Regions from separate parts of the Homo sapiens genome. Here region 2 is linked to region 1. Evidence: promoter capture Hi-C in 16 types of primary human blood cells and fetal thymus (Javierre and others, 2016). All regions are on one chromosome and are shown on one strand. The core of a region is centred on a gene start or on the middle of the fragment in contact, and the rest is flanking DNA. Distances in the headings are between cores, read along the strand shown. Region 1 holds the start of DNM2 (dynamin 2). Region 2 overlaps C19orf38 (chromosome 19 open reading frame 38).

Region 1 (4,359 bases), core at 482-2,981:
CTCCTCCTCTTTCTCCATCTTCTTGTGCTGCCTCAGGTCAGAGCACTTACCTGCTCCTGCCTTCTCACTGGGTTTCCTTGTCTCTGGCCTATTTGTCTCCAGAGGGGTCAAAACACTTCAAATCCTCCTATTTGTCTCTGTCCACTGTCAGGAGTTCCAGTTCCCAGAACCCCAATTTTGCCTACAAAATAGCGTGTCTTTTCACGGGGAGAGGATTTGTTGAGTTTTAGTGGGTACTCAAAAAGATCTAAAGCCAGTTGGGGGGGTTCACACATGTAATCCCAGCACTTTTGGGAGGCCGGCCTGTGAGGGTCGTTTGGGCGCAGGAGTTTGAGACCAGCCTGGACAACACAGCAAGACCCTGTCTCTATAAAAAATAAAATAAAAATAATTAGCTGGGCATAGTTGCGCACGTCTGTGGTTCCAGCTACTCGGGACGCTGAGGCGGGAGGATCGTTTGAGCCCAGGTGCTTGTTGAATTGAGCTATGAGTGCACTACTGCACCCCAGCCTGGGCAACAGAGTAAGGACCCAGTTTCTAAGAAAAGAAGATTCATTAGCTAGACGCGGTGGCTCACACCTGTAATTCCAACACTTTGGGAGGCCAAGACGGGCGGATCACTTGAGGCCAGGCGTTCGAGACCAGCCTGGCCAATATGGTGAAACCCCGTCTACTAAAAATACAAAATTAGCTGGGCGTGGTGGCTCACACTTGTAATCCCAGCTATTCGGGAGGCTGAGGCAGGAGAATTGGTTGAACCGGGGAGGCGGAGGTTGCAGTGAGCCAAGATCGCGCTACTGCACTCCAGCCTGGGTGACAGAGTGAGTACCCCGCCTCAAAAAAAAGAAAAGAAAAAAGATTCATGATCTGCTAAAGTTGAAGAAGTGGGGGAAAACATTGGAGTGTTAGCGGCGTCAAGATCGGGCGTGAGCAGAAAGGGCACAGCATTTGCAAAGGCGTGGAGGAGTGATTTTATTGCGTTCTATCCCTAGGAAGCAATGACTTGGCCTCTACCATTTGCAGAGCGCATTGGGACCCTGCTCCCAGAGCTGGTTTGCAGTCTGGGAACTGAGATGCGCTCTGGGACTTGTAGTTTTCCCCAGTGCCAGGAAACTCAAAAATCGAGACATCGGATCCCACCACGAGGTGTCGCCCTTGAGCGAGTACGGTGGGATCTATCCTATACTTCAGAAGGCTGTTGCAGACATCCAACAATCACAAGGAAGAACGGGAGTTTTTCTGATTGACAGATATGGTTCTCAATGATAGTCAAGATTCGGATGTTAAAGCCCGCCCTCTTTTGCCTGGTTGGCTGGAGCAACGAAGTGATATTTATATGAACCAATGGGAAATTCTTAGGGAACGAGGTAGTAGCTCAATCCCCAACACCATTGGTCCACATTGTCTACTGGCACGTCTGCCTGCCAATAAGATGGTGGAACTTCGCCAATGGGCAGAGCCAACGTGCCTTTTTCGGAAACACCCCCTTCCTCTCTTGACAACTTGCTTTCTGCCGCTATTGGCTGTTGCACAACAGTGACGGTTCTTTTGTCCAATAAGTCAGCAAGACGGTCCCCAGGGGGAAGGTTTACTCAACCATAGGCCCGTGCCTAGTTTTTATTGGCTAGTGTATCCGAGTGGCGGTGCAGCAGGCCAGTCGCGTGCGGCGCGAGTGCTTTGGGCGCAGCCCCCGGGGCCGGGGCGGGAGGTCGCTCGGGTCGGGTGTCGCCTGAGAACCGGATGAGGCGGCGACCGTGAGGCCGAGCCGGGAGCGGGCGTCTTGCCGAGGCCCGGGCGGGCGGGGAGCAACGGCTACAGACGCCGCGGGGCCAGGTCGTTGAGGGTCGGCGGCGGGCGAGGAGCGCAGGGCGCTCGGGCCGGGGGCCGCCGGCGCCATGGGCAACCGCGGGATGGAAGAGCTGATCCCGCTGGTCAACAAACTGCAGGACGCCTTCAGCTCCATCGGCCAGAGCTGCCACCTGGACCTGCCGCAGATCGCTGTAGTGGGCGGCCAGAGCGCCGGCAAGAGCTCGGTGCTGGAGAACTTCGTGGGCCGGTGAGCGGGCGCGGCAGGGATCGCGGGCGGGTGGCGGCCTAGGGCGCGGAGGGCGGACCGGGAATGGCGCGCCGTGCGCCGCCGGCGTAACTGCGGCGCTTGCGTGCCCGCGGCGGGGAACCGGACGGGGTCGGGGAGGCGGGCCCTGTGGGACGCCCTGGGCAGAGGACTCCCTGCAGGGGCTCCGGAGCAGGCCCGGGCCCCAGGGGCGGTGTCACGGGCCAGGGCGCCGTAGGACAGGAGGTGCGCTGGAACCCTGCGGTCCATCTGGTCCCAGCTTTCGTGGGTGAAGTCTGCCATCTGGTTGGCCGTGGGTCTGGGGTAGATCCCTCTTCTGCTCTTTCGGGCTGTCCATCAGAGGTGAAACCGGCCATCTAGATATCTATTGGGGCGACCGCTGCGGTCTGGCTGGCTTGTTCTTGTATCTGGAGCTGCCCCCGCCGTCTGGTTGGCTGTCTCTCTGTCCTGGGCAAGCCTCCCTGCCACCACCATTTGGTTGTCCATCTGTCCAGTCCCACCTGGCAGCCCCCTGCTGTCTGGCTAGCTGTCCAGGGTGACCTCTGCTGTCTGGCCGCCCATCCGTGCCCCTCACAGACTTTAACACTGAGCAGTCCCTCTGTTGGGTGACACCAGCTGGCCTCTACTGTCTGACTGGCTAGCTGACTCCTAGGGGACCCTGTTTGATTCTCTCTGGCTGACTCTTACAGCTTGATTCCTGGCTAGCGCTGGCTCCTCTCTTCCGTGTGAATTCTTCTGTCTGTCTGGCCATCTCCTAGTCTGCCCATGACTACCCCTGAGTGTCTGGCACAACGGCTCTGGAAAGGGGTGGTAGGAGGGTAGAGGGGAGAACAGAGCTGAAGGAGGAGGTTTGGACCCTACTTCCCCTCTCAGCTGGAAGGAGGACTCTGGGGGTACCTTACTTCAGGATTCCTTTCCGAGTGCTAGAACACAGGGGCCCGCCTCCCAGCTACAGCCTACAAATTGGGGGCCCTCCTTTGGAGCCTGGGAAGGGGCTTCTTGCGTGATCAGGCCTCAGTGGCTAGCGCTGGGATGTAGCCTTCTCTGGACAGCCTTGAGAAGCCGCGGTGTGCCCATCTGTCCAGTGGGCAAACTCCACTCTCTGGGGCTGTTTCCAGGATTCAGGAAGCAAATGAATGAGAACAGCCCGTGCAGCCACCTCTCCCTCCCACCAACCCCTCTTGCCTTTCTTGTCTCCCAGATGGGCGGCCACTTCTCCATTCCAGGAACTACTCATTTGTGGTGGTGTGGCTGCCAAATGATAACATCCTCCTCCTGTCATTATTGTCATTGTTATTGTTGTTATCATTGTCAAGGGATAATGTCCCTTCTTGATTCAACATCTTGAATCCCAAGTAAGGAGTGGGGTGGAGGCTGTGTTATCATCCCCACCTTAGCTGAGCTGGGAGGCTCAGAAGGGACTGTGATCACCCAAGGCCACTAGGCTGGCGTAAGGCCTTGTGTCTGCCATCCCAGAGCCTTGGGGCTTTGCTCCAAGCAGCACAAATCTCCTCTTTTGCTACCTTGTCTCTAGCTCATTGCCTTCTGTCTACCGTGGTGGAAAGGTGTGGACTTGCAGCCAGCTGGGCCTGGCCTGATCTCAGGCTGGACTGTGGTGTGGGCCCCTTTGAGTGACCATCTTCCTGCCTGCCCAGGCTTCTGGGACGGGGGTGGGGGGTGTTTGCAAAGCTCTGTCTCTTTCACTTGCCTTGTGACCTTGCACAGGTTGTCTTGGCCTCTCTAAGTCTTGGTTGACTCTCCTAAACAAGTTTATTTTATTTTATTTATTTATTTATTTTTTTTTTTTTTGAGACAGAGTCTCCCTCTGTCATCCAGTCTGGAGTGCAGTGGAGCAATCTTGGCTCACTGCAACCTCTGCCTCCCAGGTTCAGGCCATTCTTCTGCCTCAGCCTCCCGAGTAGCTGGGATTACAGGCGTCTACCACCAAGCCCAACTAATTTTTGTATTTTTAGTAGAGACGGGGTTTCACCATGTTGGCCAGGCTGGTCTCAAACTACTTACCTCAAGTGATCCTCATGCCTTGGCCTCCCAGAGTGCTGGGATTACAGGTGTGAGCCACCAAGCCTCGCCCCAGGAGTTCCAAGACCAGCCTGGGTAACATGACAAGATGCCATTCTACAAAAAATAAAAAAATTAGCCAGGTAGGGTGGTAGTCCCACACCTGTAGTCCCAGCAACTCAGGAGGCTGGCCCTGGGAGGACTGCTTGAGCCCAGGATGTCCAGACTGCAGTGAGCCGTGATTGCACCATTACCCTCCAGCCTGG
Region 2 (4,359 bases), core at 1,095-3,594, 140 kb after region 1:
TGCACCACCATGCCCAGCTAATTTAAAAAATTATTTTAGAGATGAGGGTCTAAAATGTTGACCAGGGCCGGACATGGTAGCTCATGCTTGTAATCCCAGTACTTTGGGAAGCTGAGGTAGGTGGATCACCTGAGGTCAGAGCTTAAGACCAGCCTGGCCAACATGGTGAAACCCTATGTCTATTAAAAATACAAAAAATAGGCTGGGCGTGGTGGCTCACGCCTGTAATCCCAGCACTTTGGGAGGCCGAGGCGGGTGGATCATGAGGTCAGGAGATTGAGACCATCCTGGCTAACAAGGTGAAACCCCGTCTCTACTAAAAATACAAAAAATTAGCCGGGCGCGGTGGCGGGCACCTGTAGTCCCAGCTACTCGGGAGGCTGAGGCAGGAGAATGGCGTGAACCCGGGAAGCAGAGCTTGCAGTGAGCCGAGATTGCGCCACTGCAGTCCGCAGTCCGGCCTGGGCGACAGAGCGAGACTCCGTCTCAAAAAAAAAAAAAAAAAAAATACAAAAAATAGCTGGGTGTGGTGGCATGCGTGTGTAATCCCAGCTACTCAGGAGGCTGAGGCAGGAGGATCATTTGAATCTGGGAGGCGGAGGTTACAGTGAGCCAAGACAGTGCCATTGCACTCCAGCATGGGTGACAGAGCAAGATTCTGTCTCAAAAAAAAAAAAGATATTGACCAGGCTAGTCTTGAACTCTTAACCTCAAGTGATCCTCCCACCTCGGCCTCCAGAGTAGCTGGGATTACAGATGTGAGTCACCATGCCCAGCATGAGCCACATAAGGTTTCTGAGCACTTACTATGGACCAAGAACTGTCTTTGGGCTTGCCCAAAGACATTCCAGGCTGACATTCCAGGCGGATGAGGACAGATGATAAACATGAAATCCAATATATATTCAACCTGCCAGCAGGGCACCAGATGAAATCCACCTGGGTGAGGATGTCATTATTTGAAGTAGAGTAGGGCGACTGGCCCCATGTTCTAATGGTCAGCCCTCTGGACTCTGAAGTAGAGTAGGGCAATCAGGGAAGCCCTCTCTGAGGAGGTGGCATTTGAGCAAAAAACTGAATGATGAGGAGGAGCCAATCATGTGGATATCCAGGGCATGTGTTGCAGGCAGAGGATACAGGATGTGCAAAGGCCCCGAGGCTGAAGCTTCCCTGGTGTGTCTGAGGAGCCCAGTATGGCTGAAGGATGGTGAACAAGGAGGAAAATGGGGAGAGGCGGGGCAGGGAGTTCACCAGGAGGATCGTGGGGGGTCTTGTAGACCACAGCAAGGATTCGATCTTTTCACCTGAGTGAGGGAACCCTGGCAGGGCTGATGTCCTTTTCTGATCTCTGAATGAGGAGGCTGGACATGGGTTATGGGTCAAGAAGCAGGAGGGAGGAGCCTTTGGTGGCCTTCTGTGTTACCATCAGTCAGAACTTTCCTGGCCGGGTGCAATGACCCACGCCTATAAGCCCAGGACTTTGGGAGGCTGAGGCAGGACGATTCCTTGAGCCAAGGAGTTCAAGATCAGCCTGGGCAACATAGTGAGACCCTGTCTCTACAAAAAAAAAAAAAAATTATTTTATTTTTTTTTTAGATAGGGGTCTTGCTTTGTTGACCAGGCTAGAGTGCAGTGGCGCAATCACAGCTCACTGCAGCCTCCACTTCCTGGGCTCAATCAATCTTCCCTTCTCAGTCTCCCTAGCAGCTGGGACTACAGCCGTGCACCACCACGCCTGGCTAATATGTCTATTTTTTGTAAAGACAGGGACTCACTCTGTCGCCCAGGCTGGAGTGCAGTGGTGTGACCCCAGCTCACTGCAATCTCTACCTCCGAGGTTCAAGCAATTCTCCTGCCTCAGCCTCTCGAGTCTCACTGCAACCTCTACCTCCGAGGTTCAAGCAATTCTCCTGCCTCAGCCTCCCGAGTAGCTGGGATTACAGGCGTGCACCACCATGCCCAGCTACTTTTTGAGTTTTAGTAGAGATGGGGTTTCACAATGCTGGCCAGGCTGCTCTCAAACTCCTGACCTCAGGTGTTCTGCCTGCCTCGGCCTCACAAAGTGCTGGAATTACAGGCGTGAGCCACCATGCCCAGCTCCCCCCAATTTTTTTTTTTTTTTTGAGACAGTCTCGGTCTGTCGCCCAGGCTGGAGTACAGTGGCACGATCTCGGCTCACTGCAACCTCTGCCTCCCGGGTTCAAGCGATTCTCCTGCCTCAGAGCCTCCCGAGTAGCTGGGACTACAGGCATGTGCCACCATGCCCAGCTAATTTTTTGTATTTTTTTTTTTAGTAAGAAGGGGTTTCACAGTGTTAGCCAGGATGATCTCAATCTCCTGATCTTGTGATCCGCCCACCTCAGCCTCCCAAAGTGCTGAGATTACAGGCGTGAGCTACCCCGTCCGGCTAATGTTTTTTTTTTTTTTTTTTTAATTAGGAGGGACTGCTGGCATGTGTCAGTAGGCTGAGGCAGGTGGATCACTTAAGCCGGGGAGGTAGAGGATATAGTGAGCCATGATCGCACCACTGCATTCCAGCCTGGGTGACAGAGGGAGACCCTGTCTGTAAAAACTTTTTTTTTTTTTTAATTTTTGAGACAGAGTCTCACTCTGTCGCCCAGGCTGAAGTGCAGTGGCCCAATCTCGGCTCACTGCAACCTTTGCCTCCCAGGCTCAAGCGATTCTCGTGCCTCAGCCTCCCGAGTAGCTGGGACTACAGGCGCCAACCACCACACCCTGCTAATTTTTGTATTTTTTAGTAGAGATGGGGTTTCACCATGTTGGCCAGGGTGGTCTTCAACTCCTGACCTCAAGTGATCCGCCCACATCGGCCTCCCAAAGTGCTGGGATTACAGCCATGAGCCACCGCGCCTGGCCCAAAAAAACTTTTAAAAAGAACTTTTTCACTGCAAAAAATAATCTTGTTGCCAGCCGAGGCCAACATGCAGCTATGACAGGGCAGTTCTCTGTCCTTCCCGGCCTCAGGCTCCTCTATCAAAGGCCCCCTTCTCTCACCTTGGCCTTGTGGCCTTGGAGTAGGGAGCTGACAACACCCCTTCTGCCCCAGGTGAATCAATGAACAAGGCTGACATTGTGAGAATACCAAGCGTCTGTCTTCTTCCCTCTTCTGGCTTAGCTCCTCACCTCCCTTGGGGTCAGGGCATCTCCTCTTTCTCCAGGAAGGGGAAGCGAAGTCTTGTGCTGAGAAGGTGACTCTGGAACTGCCACTCCCATGCCTGTGTGACTAGCTTCTGGGTGGATCTCAGGGTCTACCGTTGGGCTGGGGGTGGATGTCATCTGGCCACTGGCACCCAGACTGCAAGTAATAAAAACCTGACTCACACTGGCTCTACCAGCAAGAGGGGATTTGTTGGTTCACTGAGCTGAAGTCAGTTTACATGGCTGACTTCAGATATGGCTGGATCCAGGTGCTGAAAAATGACAGAAAGCATTTGCCTTCTCAGCTCCTCTTCTGTCTTATTCTCAGGTAGTTTCTCCCCCTCATGGAGGCAAGATTGTGCCCTGAAGCTTCAGATATATATTCTTTTTTTTTTTTTTTTTTTTTTTTTGAGACAGATTCTAGCTGTGTCACCCAGACTGGAAGGCAATGGCCCAATCTCGGCTCACTGCAACCTCCACCTTTTGGGTTCAATCGATTCTCCTGCCTCAGCGTCCCAAGTAGCTGGGATTACAGGCACGTAACACCTGGCTAATTTTTGTATTTTTAGTAGAGACGAGGTTTCACTATGTTGGCCAGGTTGATCTCGAACTCCTGACCTCAGGTGATCCACCCACCTCAGTCTCCCAAAGGGCTGGGATTACAGGCGTGAGCCACCGTGCCCAGCCATCTCTTTTTTTGTTTGTTTCTTCAGATGGGGTCTCTCTGTGTCACCCAGGCTGGAGTGCAGTAGCACGATCTCAGCTCAGTGCACCCTCCACTTCCCGGGTTCAAACTATTCTTGTGCCTCAGCCTCTGAAGTAGCTGGAATTACAGGTGTGCACCACACCTGGCTAATTATTTGTGGGGTTTTGTTGTTTTTTGTTTTGTTTGTTTCTTTTTGAGACAGAGTCTTGCTCTGTCACCCAGGCTGGAGTTCAGTGGCGCCATCTCAGCTCACTGCAACCTCCGCCTCCCGGGTTCAAGTGATTCTCCTGCCTCAGCCTCCTGAGTAAGTGGGACTACAGGCACGTGCCAGCACGCCTGGCTAATTTTTTGTATTTTTAGTAGAGACGGGGTTTCACAGTGTTAGCCAGGATGGTCTCGATCTACTGACCTAGTGATCCACCTGCCTTGGCCTCCCAAAGTGTGGGGATTACAGGCGTGAGCCACTGCGCCTGGCCAATTATTTATATTTTTAA

Evidence for each region. Contacts are between HindIII fragments. The CHiCAGO score rates a contact against its expected background, and 5 or more counts as called.
Region 2: a contact is called between a fragment that was not itself captured here and the fragment with the promoter of DNM2 in region 1, in 7 of 17 cell types (neutrophils, endothelial precursors, monocytes and 4 more). The highest score is 12.8, in neutrophils.

What each region holds. Positions count from the first base shown.
Region 1 is chr19:10,716,348-10,720,706 of GRCh38, forward strand. DNM2 (dynamin 2) reads left to right here and starts at 1,732. Exons shown (of 21, transcript NM_001005361.3): 1 at 1,732-2,056. The coding sequence starts at 1,896. MIR638 (microRNA 638) reads left to right here and starts at 2,057; the gene lies at 2,057-2,156. RefSeq lists enhancers at 811-1,000, 1,191-1,310, 2,751-2,890 and a silencer at 1,591-2,260. The HindIII fragment of the contact is 21,985 bases long and covers 1-4,359 here.
Region 2 is chr19:10,851,487-10,855,845 of GRCh38, forward strand. All of the region lies in intron 2 of C19orf38 (chromosome 19 open reading frame 38), which reads left to right. Among named protein-coding and RNA genes, the nearest start is that of C19orf38, 5.3 kb to the left of the region's middle. The HindIII fragment of the contact is 2,363 bases long and covers 1,164-3,526 here.